2 separate regions of the Homo sapiens genome follow, and region 2 is linked to region 1. The links are contacts of gene promoters, found by promoter capture Hi-C in blood cells and fetal thymus (Javierre and others, 2016). All regions are on one chromosome and are shown on one strand. The core of a region is centred on a gene start or on the middle of the fragment in contact, and the rest is flanking DNA. Distances in the headings are between cores, read along the strand shown.

Evidence for each region. Contacts are between HindIII fragments. The CHiCAGO score rates a contact against its expected background, and 5 or more counts as called.
Region 2: a fragment that was not itself captured here is called in contact with the fragment with the promoter of STARD4-AS1 in region 1 in 2 of 17 cell types (total B cells and non-activated CD4 T cells); the score reaches 8.1 in total B cells.

The regions. Positions count from the first base shown.
Region 1 is chr5:111,509,706-111,513,665 of GRCh38, forward strand. It overlaps STARD4-AS1 (STARD4 antisense RNA 1), which reads left to right and starts at 2,521. Exons shown (of 7, transcript NR_040093.1): 1 at 2,521-2,803. It overlaps STARD4 (StAR related lipid transfer domain containing 4), which reads right to left and starts at 2,830. Exons shown (of 6, transcript NM_139164.3): 1 at 2,680-2,830. RefSeq lists enhancers at 2,465-2,674, 3,155-3,294 and a silencer at 2,705-3,074. The HindIII fragment of the contact is 3,364 bases long and covers 1,345-3,960 here.
Region 2 is chr5:112,705,562-112,709,824 of GRCh38, forward strand. It overlaps a transcript of APC not described here. Among named protein-coding and RNA genes, the nearest start is that of APC, 30 kb to the right of the region's middle. RefSeq lists an enhancer at 1,917-1,976. The HindIII fragment of the contact is 810 bases long and covers 2,361-3,170 here.

The DNA.
Region 1 (3,960 bases), core at 1,271-3,770:
TAGGAACACAGTGAATAAAAAATGGAAAAATGTATAGACAATAAGCTACCATTCTCACTTATGGAAGACCTCAAGATATCTAAAGTATGCCCATTTACGCCAATCCTAGAGCTTCTGAATAACTAAAACTTCCTTTACCATAATGAAACACCATTTCTCAAGAAGGACTACTATTAAATATTTATCAAGCATCTATTATATACCAGGTCCTAGAACTACAGAAACAGATGGAATTCAGATTTTACTCTCAAATTGACTTATTCCACCCTTAAGCTTTAACAGAAATAACAACAACAAAAACTAAAACATTAAAAAATTCTATTAATAGCCTTTTTAAGAGTGGTGCAGTGGGAGGTAGGAAAGGAAGAGAAAGAAGTACAAAATCAGAAAGCTCTCTCTGATTAAATATGTCCAGCAATGTATTTAACCAAACAGTTAAGTCTTGCATGGATTATTTTCATCAAGATTAAGTCCATAATGAAATAATCATTGCCATCAAAACTGCTACCTCTGTGTAAACAGGCATAATTGAGCATTTCTCAAAATATTAATATATTCTAGAACCAAGAGGGTTGGGGGAGATGGGTTATCAAGGTCTTGGCTCTCTCTCCTAATATAACAGGGTACTGACATTAATTGAGAGGAAAACACCTAATTTGCCCTCCTGCAATCTCCAACTGTGGAGAATGTCAGGTAAATGTTTTAAATGCCATTCTGAACCCATTCTGAACTTCCTTTTACTAATTCAGTCTTTTATTCCCTTATCTTGACCTTATATCAGGAAATTATCCAACTCTAACATTTACACGTCAGAGAGAACAGGCACCACTTAACCTTATCAGAATATAATAGGTTCATATAAAAGATTTTATACTCTTGTCAGTCCCATGGCCAAATGCTGAGTAATGTCCACCTCCATGTTTTTCCTTTAATCTTTTTGTTCATGTTTTCTATGCCCATGCTTTTGAAGCTATCACTAGTGGTGATAGTGGCTGCCATCATAGGGAGGGCAGCTGTCTCAAGTTACTTTTCTTGAGGCCATCTATCAGCACCATAGTCTTGACCAATCCAACTCCAATTATTCTCAAATATCTGTCACAGTGAGATGGCATAGGTTCTATTTTAAATATGGAACATAATAAAACATTTAACCTGTAATGTAAAGTGAATGCCATAAAAATCTGTTTGGACTTTTGTAGTACGACTAGGTCAGAATTCACTTGTTAAAGAAATGCAGGTATCAGAACGGTCTAACCTTGCATTACTTGATTAATATGGTTTTCACTTCCGTCAACAGCTTCAGTTTAACATGCCATGGACTTTCCCCAATGTCATACAAACCAAAGCTTTGTAAATTAAATTATATTTTCTAACTAACATAAAAATTTCAGCATATGCTTGATTTCCAATCAATGTTGAACTGTTAAGTTTTCTAACTCAGACAAGTACAGCAGCTTCTCATTTTTTGAGACTGGCTCTGGCAGGAGCTCACTATTTAAAGAAATGCAACATGGAAGTATATTTCTACAATATGAATAGTGAGCCAACTTACTGTTCAAACCCCTAATGCTCTAATACTTGATTAAAAAAAAAACCTAATGCTCTGTACTTGATTTTAAAAAATAACAATAACATTTATTGATCACTTACTACATGGTCAGTCCTTCTGGCTGCTTTACATTGCATTTATTTTATTTAATCCTCACAACAGTAATAGTCCTCCTTGAGAAAATGTGTTTCATTATGGTAAAGGAATTTTAGTTATTCAGAAGCTCTAGGATTGGTGTAAATGGGCATACTTTAGATATCTTGAGGTCTTCCATAAGTGAGAATAGTAGCTTAATGTCTATACATTTTCCCTGTTTTACAGAAAGGGAAAATAGCAACAGGAAGGTTGAGTCACTTGTCCAAGATCACACAGTTCATAAGTGATGGAGCCAGAATTCCAACCCAGGGCGTCTGACTTCAGAGCCTAAAGCTCTCTCTTGTAAAACTGTGGAAGCTGATCACAGGCTGGAAAAGACTTCATATAAAAAACCTGGGCCCACCAAATATTTGTCAAGTTTTGTCCTGGCTGCTGAACCTAAAAATCTAAGGTAATCTTTCTCAAGTGTAAATTCGGGAAAACAATGACACTGATTTGGTGAGAAATTATTTGAGTTAATACATTTAGCAGGGACCTTGGAAGGCAGTAAGCCCTGGGAAAACTTTGTCTCTTGTCTTTGGCATCACCTCCGCGAAGCCTGGTGGGACGCGGCTGCCCCTGCGCTGTCTGTGCACCTCCTAAGAACCAGGAAGCGCGGTGACCTCCAAAGAACAGGACTGTCCCAAATCAAGCGGGATTACCACCGCCCCTCTCCCATTTAACAGCTGAGGACACTGAGGTCTAATGGATTCCAAGTACTTAAATAGGTGAGCGGCGCGCAGGGGCGAGTTGCAAGCCCTGGGATCCTTCCAGCTCGCCGCTTCCCCTCCCAGGGGCTCAGGTTTCTCTTTCATCTGTGAGGTCCTCTCCCGCCCGGACGCCGGGGCCCGCCATCCCCAACGTCCACCGCGAGCTCCCCAGATCCATGGTCTGGAGCAGGTCCAGAAGACGCACCTGGCAGGACGCCCCGGGCGCCACAGTCGCCCTCCACACGGGCCACCCCAATCCTGCCGCGGCTCCGTGGCTCTCCTTACCTTTACCTGAGGTGAAGCAAGGACGTGGAAGCAGCTACGGCGCGCTACCAAGCACCTCACACCGCTCTCAACAGTACTGCTCAGCCTCCCGGCCCGCCGATGCGCAGGCGACAGCAGCCAACTTGTAAGTCACCGCTGGTCGCAGCCAACTGGAAGGCACCCAGCGCCTCAGGGCAAGGCGGGCCGAGCCCCCAGCCCCGCCCCCTGGCCCGATCCCGGGGGCTCCGGGGAGGGGGGGCTGAGAGGAGGTGGCCGGAACAACGTGCGCTTGTTCGGATTGGCTGGCGCGGGAGCGTGTGGAGGGCTGATTGGTGGCCGATAAATGGAATGATTCCGCGTGGGTGTGGGCTGGCCCGAGCCGCGCCAGGGTTCCCTGGATGTCTGGGGTTGCCTGCAGGTTTGGATTGGTTGGGTTGGGTTGTCCTGTGATCACTTAATTGTGAAAGAATTTTGTCAAGCAGTAAACCGACTGGGAGAAATTGAAACAGAAGGCGAAGTGAAGGATCACAGTGAGGGATAAGGTCCAAATTCATCCCGCTTGTGGATATCCTAGTATCTCGCAACTACGCTACTCCTCCCAGGACTAAAAGTCAAATAAGAAAAAGCGCCCATGCAGAGGAGGACGAGCTCTCTGCCTCCTGCTTAGCCTGACTCAGAACTGAGAGAGCTGGGAAGGAAAATGCATATAAACGAAAGTCCCTGCCACTATGTGAATTGACCTTTAGCCAAATACGTTTGTGTGTGTGTGGGTGTGGGTGTGTGTGGGTGCGTGTGTGTGTTTCCATCCTCAGATAAAGAGTTTAGAGGGCAACCTTAGAAGCAGAGAAAAGGAGGAGGTGTGACAAGTGGATTTAGCAACTGCACAGTTTTGGAGTTTCCATCTACTCGAACATGAGAAAGATTTCTTCCAGTGGCTGTGAAGTCACCCATCTGATGGGATGCTTGGCAAACAGTGAATTTCTTCCTTTACCAGAGTAGCCATGATGCACTGATTAGCGAGGCTTGGTTTGTCTGCAAATTGCGTTTACTAAGATACGTAGTTTGAGAACCAAAAGCAGGGAAGAATGCAGTGCTACACCATTAGTGATTTCTGATAGACTTGCAATGAAAATAAATAATATTTCGTAAATTTTTAAGTCGGCCTCACCAAAAGAATTACCAAATACTACTTGCTAGTTATTATTGGCCGATTTATTTTTTACCTCCATCGTTTATATGTAAAATAATTTGTTTTATATTTATATTTATAATTTCGTGTGACATAATAGAAGAGTTCTTCGT
Region 2 (4,263 bases), core at 1,516-4,015, 1.2 Mb after region 1:
CCCTTAAGTGGGGGTAACTGAATGAAATCTCTAATGAAAGCCTGCTAATGACACAGAATCAAATCTCTGAGTAAGCCTGTCTCCAAATCCAATTTCTCTAGATGGGAAGGGCATGGGCTTTATGGTCAGCACTATCCCTTAATGTGAGACCTTGGGCAAGGGACTTAATCTCTCTGAATTTGCCCATGTATAAAAGTGAGGATAATTATCTAGCAGGGCTGTGGTGAGGATTTCATATCTAACATAGTTCACAGCACATATAATAGGGATTGCATTAACTTGAAGCCTTCCTTCTCTCCATACTACAACATATGTAATATAAACCCTGCCCACTGTCCCACAATCACCCACCCTTCTCCATCCCATCTGCTCTCTCTCCAACCTTCCTACTTATATTCTAGCTGAGGAGACATATAAATAAGAAGTGACTTGCATTTCATTTTAAAAACCAAGTGAAACCAATATAGTACACCACCAACTACTTAGATGCTGACAAACTTCCACACTTATTAAATCAACAAACACTGAGTGACAGAGCACTCATGCCAGGTATGGTGCTATGCACTGTGTATTCATTGGTAAACAAAACGTATTCCCTGTCTTATGGAGTCGACTGTTTAGTGTGGAGGCAGTGAAGAAACAAAACATAGATCATTTAAAAACATATTGAGTACCATGGAAGAAATGATAAGGTGCAATGATTGAGAATAATAAGGAAGACAGGGGAAAATTTATTATTCTTAGGAAGGACGGTCTTTCTGAGGTGATATTTAAACTGAAACTTGAAAGATAAGAAGTTAGACATTTAAAGAACAAGAAGAAGTGTCTTCTAGGTAGTCAAGGGGGCATATACAAACCAGAAAGGCAGTCGGGAGCTAGAAGTGTTTGAAGAGGAGTAGTGGGGGCTAGGGGAGACAGCGTCAACAACATACAAGGGCCATTTTGAATAAAATCCAACTTCTTACCATGACCTGGAGGCCCTACCTGATTTGGCCTCTGCCTACCCCGACCACATCTCCTTCCCACTGTCCATGTCACCTATTCTTTCTGTCCCTCTTTCATGTCAGACTTGCTACCACCTCAGGATCTGTTCTGTTGTTCCCTCTGTCTGAAAGCTTTTGCCCCAGATCTTCCAGTGGCTCCTGGGCCCCCATGGTCAGTCAGGCTTCAGATTAAATGTCAACTCTGGAGAAAGATCACTAATCACCACCTCTCACTGTCCATCATCTTTCTGTGTGGTTTGCTCTCTTCCTATCCCTTATCACCATCAAACATTCTTTTGTTGACTGTCTTTTATTGTCTATTCTTTCACACTAGAATGTAAGTTCCGTGAGTTTATTGTATTTCCTATTGCTGTAAATCTAGAGCCTGAAACAGTATCTAGTATATATCGGAAACCCAAATGATATTGTTCAATTAATGTTGAATGAAATGAAACTGAAGAGGTAATCCAAGGTAAAGAACTTATCAAACTGTGTGAGACAAACAAGGATTTCCCGGAAGAGGTGTTTTTAAATTAAAACTACAGGGTGGTAGTGAGAGGTGGTAGGGAAGCAGAGGTCGCAGCTACAAAATAATAACTTGCTCATCTCCGTTTCTCCGCTATCTTATGAGCCCTTGTGGGGCTGGGACAGAATTTTATTCATCTTTCTATCATCAGCGTCTAGTACGGGGAGTAGCAAATAGTGAGCACTCGATAGATGTTTGCGGAATAATGGACTAGTGTGTGCAGAAGGATCTATTAACTGGGCTGCAGCACAATTCAGAGAAGGCCAGTAAGTGCTGCAACTGAGACTCGGCTGCCTAGGCAGCAATGGCTCACGGGACAGAACAGCGAAGCAGTGCCCGGCAAGCGGAGCGCAGCACCCATTGCGCCTGCGCATAACAGGCTCTAGTCTCCGGGCTGTGGGAAGCCAGCAACACCTCTCACGCATGCGCATTGTAGTCTTCCCACCTCCCACAAGATGGCGGAGGGCAAGTAGCAAGGGGGCGGGGTGTGGCCGCCGGAAGCCTAGCCGCTGCTCGGGGGGGACCTGCGGGCTCAGGCCCGGGAGCTGCGGACCGAGGTTGGCTCGATGCTGTTCCCAGGTACTGTTGTTGGCTGTTGGTGAGGAAGGTGAAGCACTCAGTTGCCTTCTCGGGCCTCGGCGCCCCCTATGTACGCCTCCCTGGGCTCGGGTCCGGTCGCCCCTTTGCCCGCTTCTGTACCACCCTCAGTTCTCGGGTCCTGGAGCACCGGCGGCAGCAGGAGCTGCGTCCGGCAGGAGACGAAGAGCCCGGGCGGCGCTCGTACTTCTGGCCACTGGGCGAGCGTCTGGCAGGTGAGTGAGGCTGCAGGCATTGACGTCTCCTCCCGGCAAAGCTTCCTCGGCTTTGCCCCGCCGCTGCTCGGGACCCTACGGTGCTCGGCCCGACTCTGTGGCTCTCTTCTCTCCATGTCTCACCCTCTCCCCTCCCCGCACTCCCCATTCAGGCCTCCAGTTGGCCCCTGGCTTTGCAGGTCCTCCATTCTCACGCAGTGGATGGGGGTCGCGACGCCCGCCGTCCTCCACCTTTCCTGGCTGCTGCTGGAGCTTCGCCCCTGCAAGTGGTGCCCCATTCGCGTTAGGTGGGTGGGTCGTCCGCCCTTCCCATTTTAGTCGCTTCCCCATCTTCCTCGTTTGGACCCTCTTGCTTCCTCTAAAAGTTTTAAACTCTCTGCCTGGGAAAATACCTGATAGCCCGGCATGTGGAGTTACAAAGAAAGGGCTGTTATCCAAAGGCCGGTGAATTTTGTTCACTTTGATGGGAGAATCAAGTCCCCAGGAGCCTTGGATGGTTAGGTCAGAGTCTGACTCCTTGACCCACCAAGTAGAGGAATGGTGCCTCTGTTGGCAAATGATTGTTCATCTAAATCATTCATTTTTTTCGGCTGTAGGAAATCTTTGGTCTCTGAACTGTTGAGGTGGGGGCGTGAGCTTTCTAGATCTAGTGAAAGAATTGGAAACTGTTATATTCGTTTTAAAAAAGAAGACCTTATGCAGTACATGTAAGACATCACTTAATGGTACAAGCAAGGATAAGTGATTTATTCTTTTATTCAGTGTTAGCTTAAATTGCCTACTGACGTCTTAGAATTCCATGTTGTACAAGCCCTTTGTTTCTATTTAGAAAGGACTAAAATGGAGAAAAGCTTTTTAAGTTCAAAACTTCTTAAATTGCTTGTATTCTCGATTGTTGTTACTGTTCAACCCTCCTTAGGAGTACTTGATATTTTCTATATGATTTAGTCTTGTGCCAGTCTCAGTACTCCCTCCTTTATTAGTGGAGCAAGGGTAGTCAGAATTACTGGTGTAAAAAACTGTCCTAAATAACGTAGTACCTTGCCAGAGTCTAAGTGCAAAATGTGGGATCAAAGCGGTAGTGGAGGAAGTTGCCATGGCTAATTTTTCCATCTTTCCCTGGATGGAAGGGTTGGATAACGTGTCAAGAGCCCCAAAATTGTAGAAGTGAGATTAAAAATATAAATGATAGCTTGCCCTTTGAAATTGCAAATGGGTGGACCTTTTTTATTAACATTAAATTGAGCAATATCGTTTTCTTGAAGTTATGCTAGATGTTCTCCAAAGTTGTTAAGCACAAACTATGCCTGCTGTATTAGAATTGTATGTTAAAAATTTTTAACGTGTGGGTTATAAATAGCCTGGCAGATTTGTTTACTTTTCATTCTGTCTCATAACACATAATCTATTTTTCCCTTTACTGTGGACTTTTGACCTTTTAATGCATTTTTAAAATTTAGAGATAGAATTGTTCAGCTTAAAAGAAGGAGGAATATTTTTATGTTTGCTTCTTGTATGGGCTAGTTCATTCGTTGCTAGCCTTCACTTTTCTGGAACCAGAGCCTGTGTGTTTTTAGAGCTGGTTGTCTCTGAATTCTCTGCATACAGTTTGAAGGGGCAGTAGCAAAGCAGGGGTTGCTGAGCCCCAATCAGTGGCTCACTGCTTCTGGCAAAATGATTTGTAGCTCTGTATCAAAAAACATCTGACCACAAACTCTTTAAAACCTCTCACTTTGGCAGGGTGTGGTGGCTCATGCCTGTAATTCCAGCACTTTGGGAGAGGCCAAAGCGCATGGATCGCATGAGTCCAGGAGTTCGAGACCAGCCTAGGCAACATGGCAAAGCCTCATCTGTACAAAAAAAAATACAAAAATAAGCCAGGCATGGTGGTGCATGCCTGTGATTCCAGCTACTTGGGAGGCTGAGGCAGGAGGATTGTTGG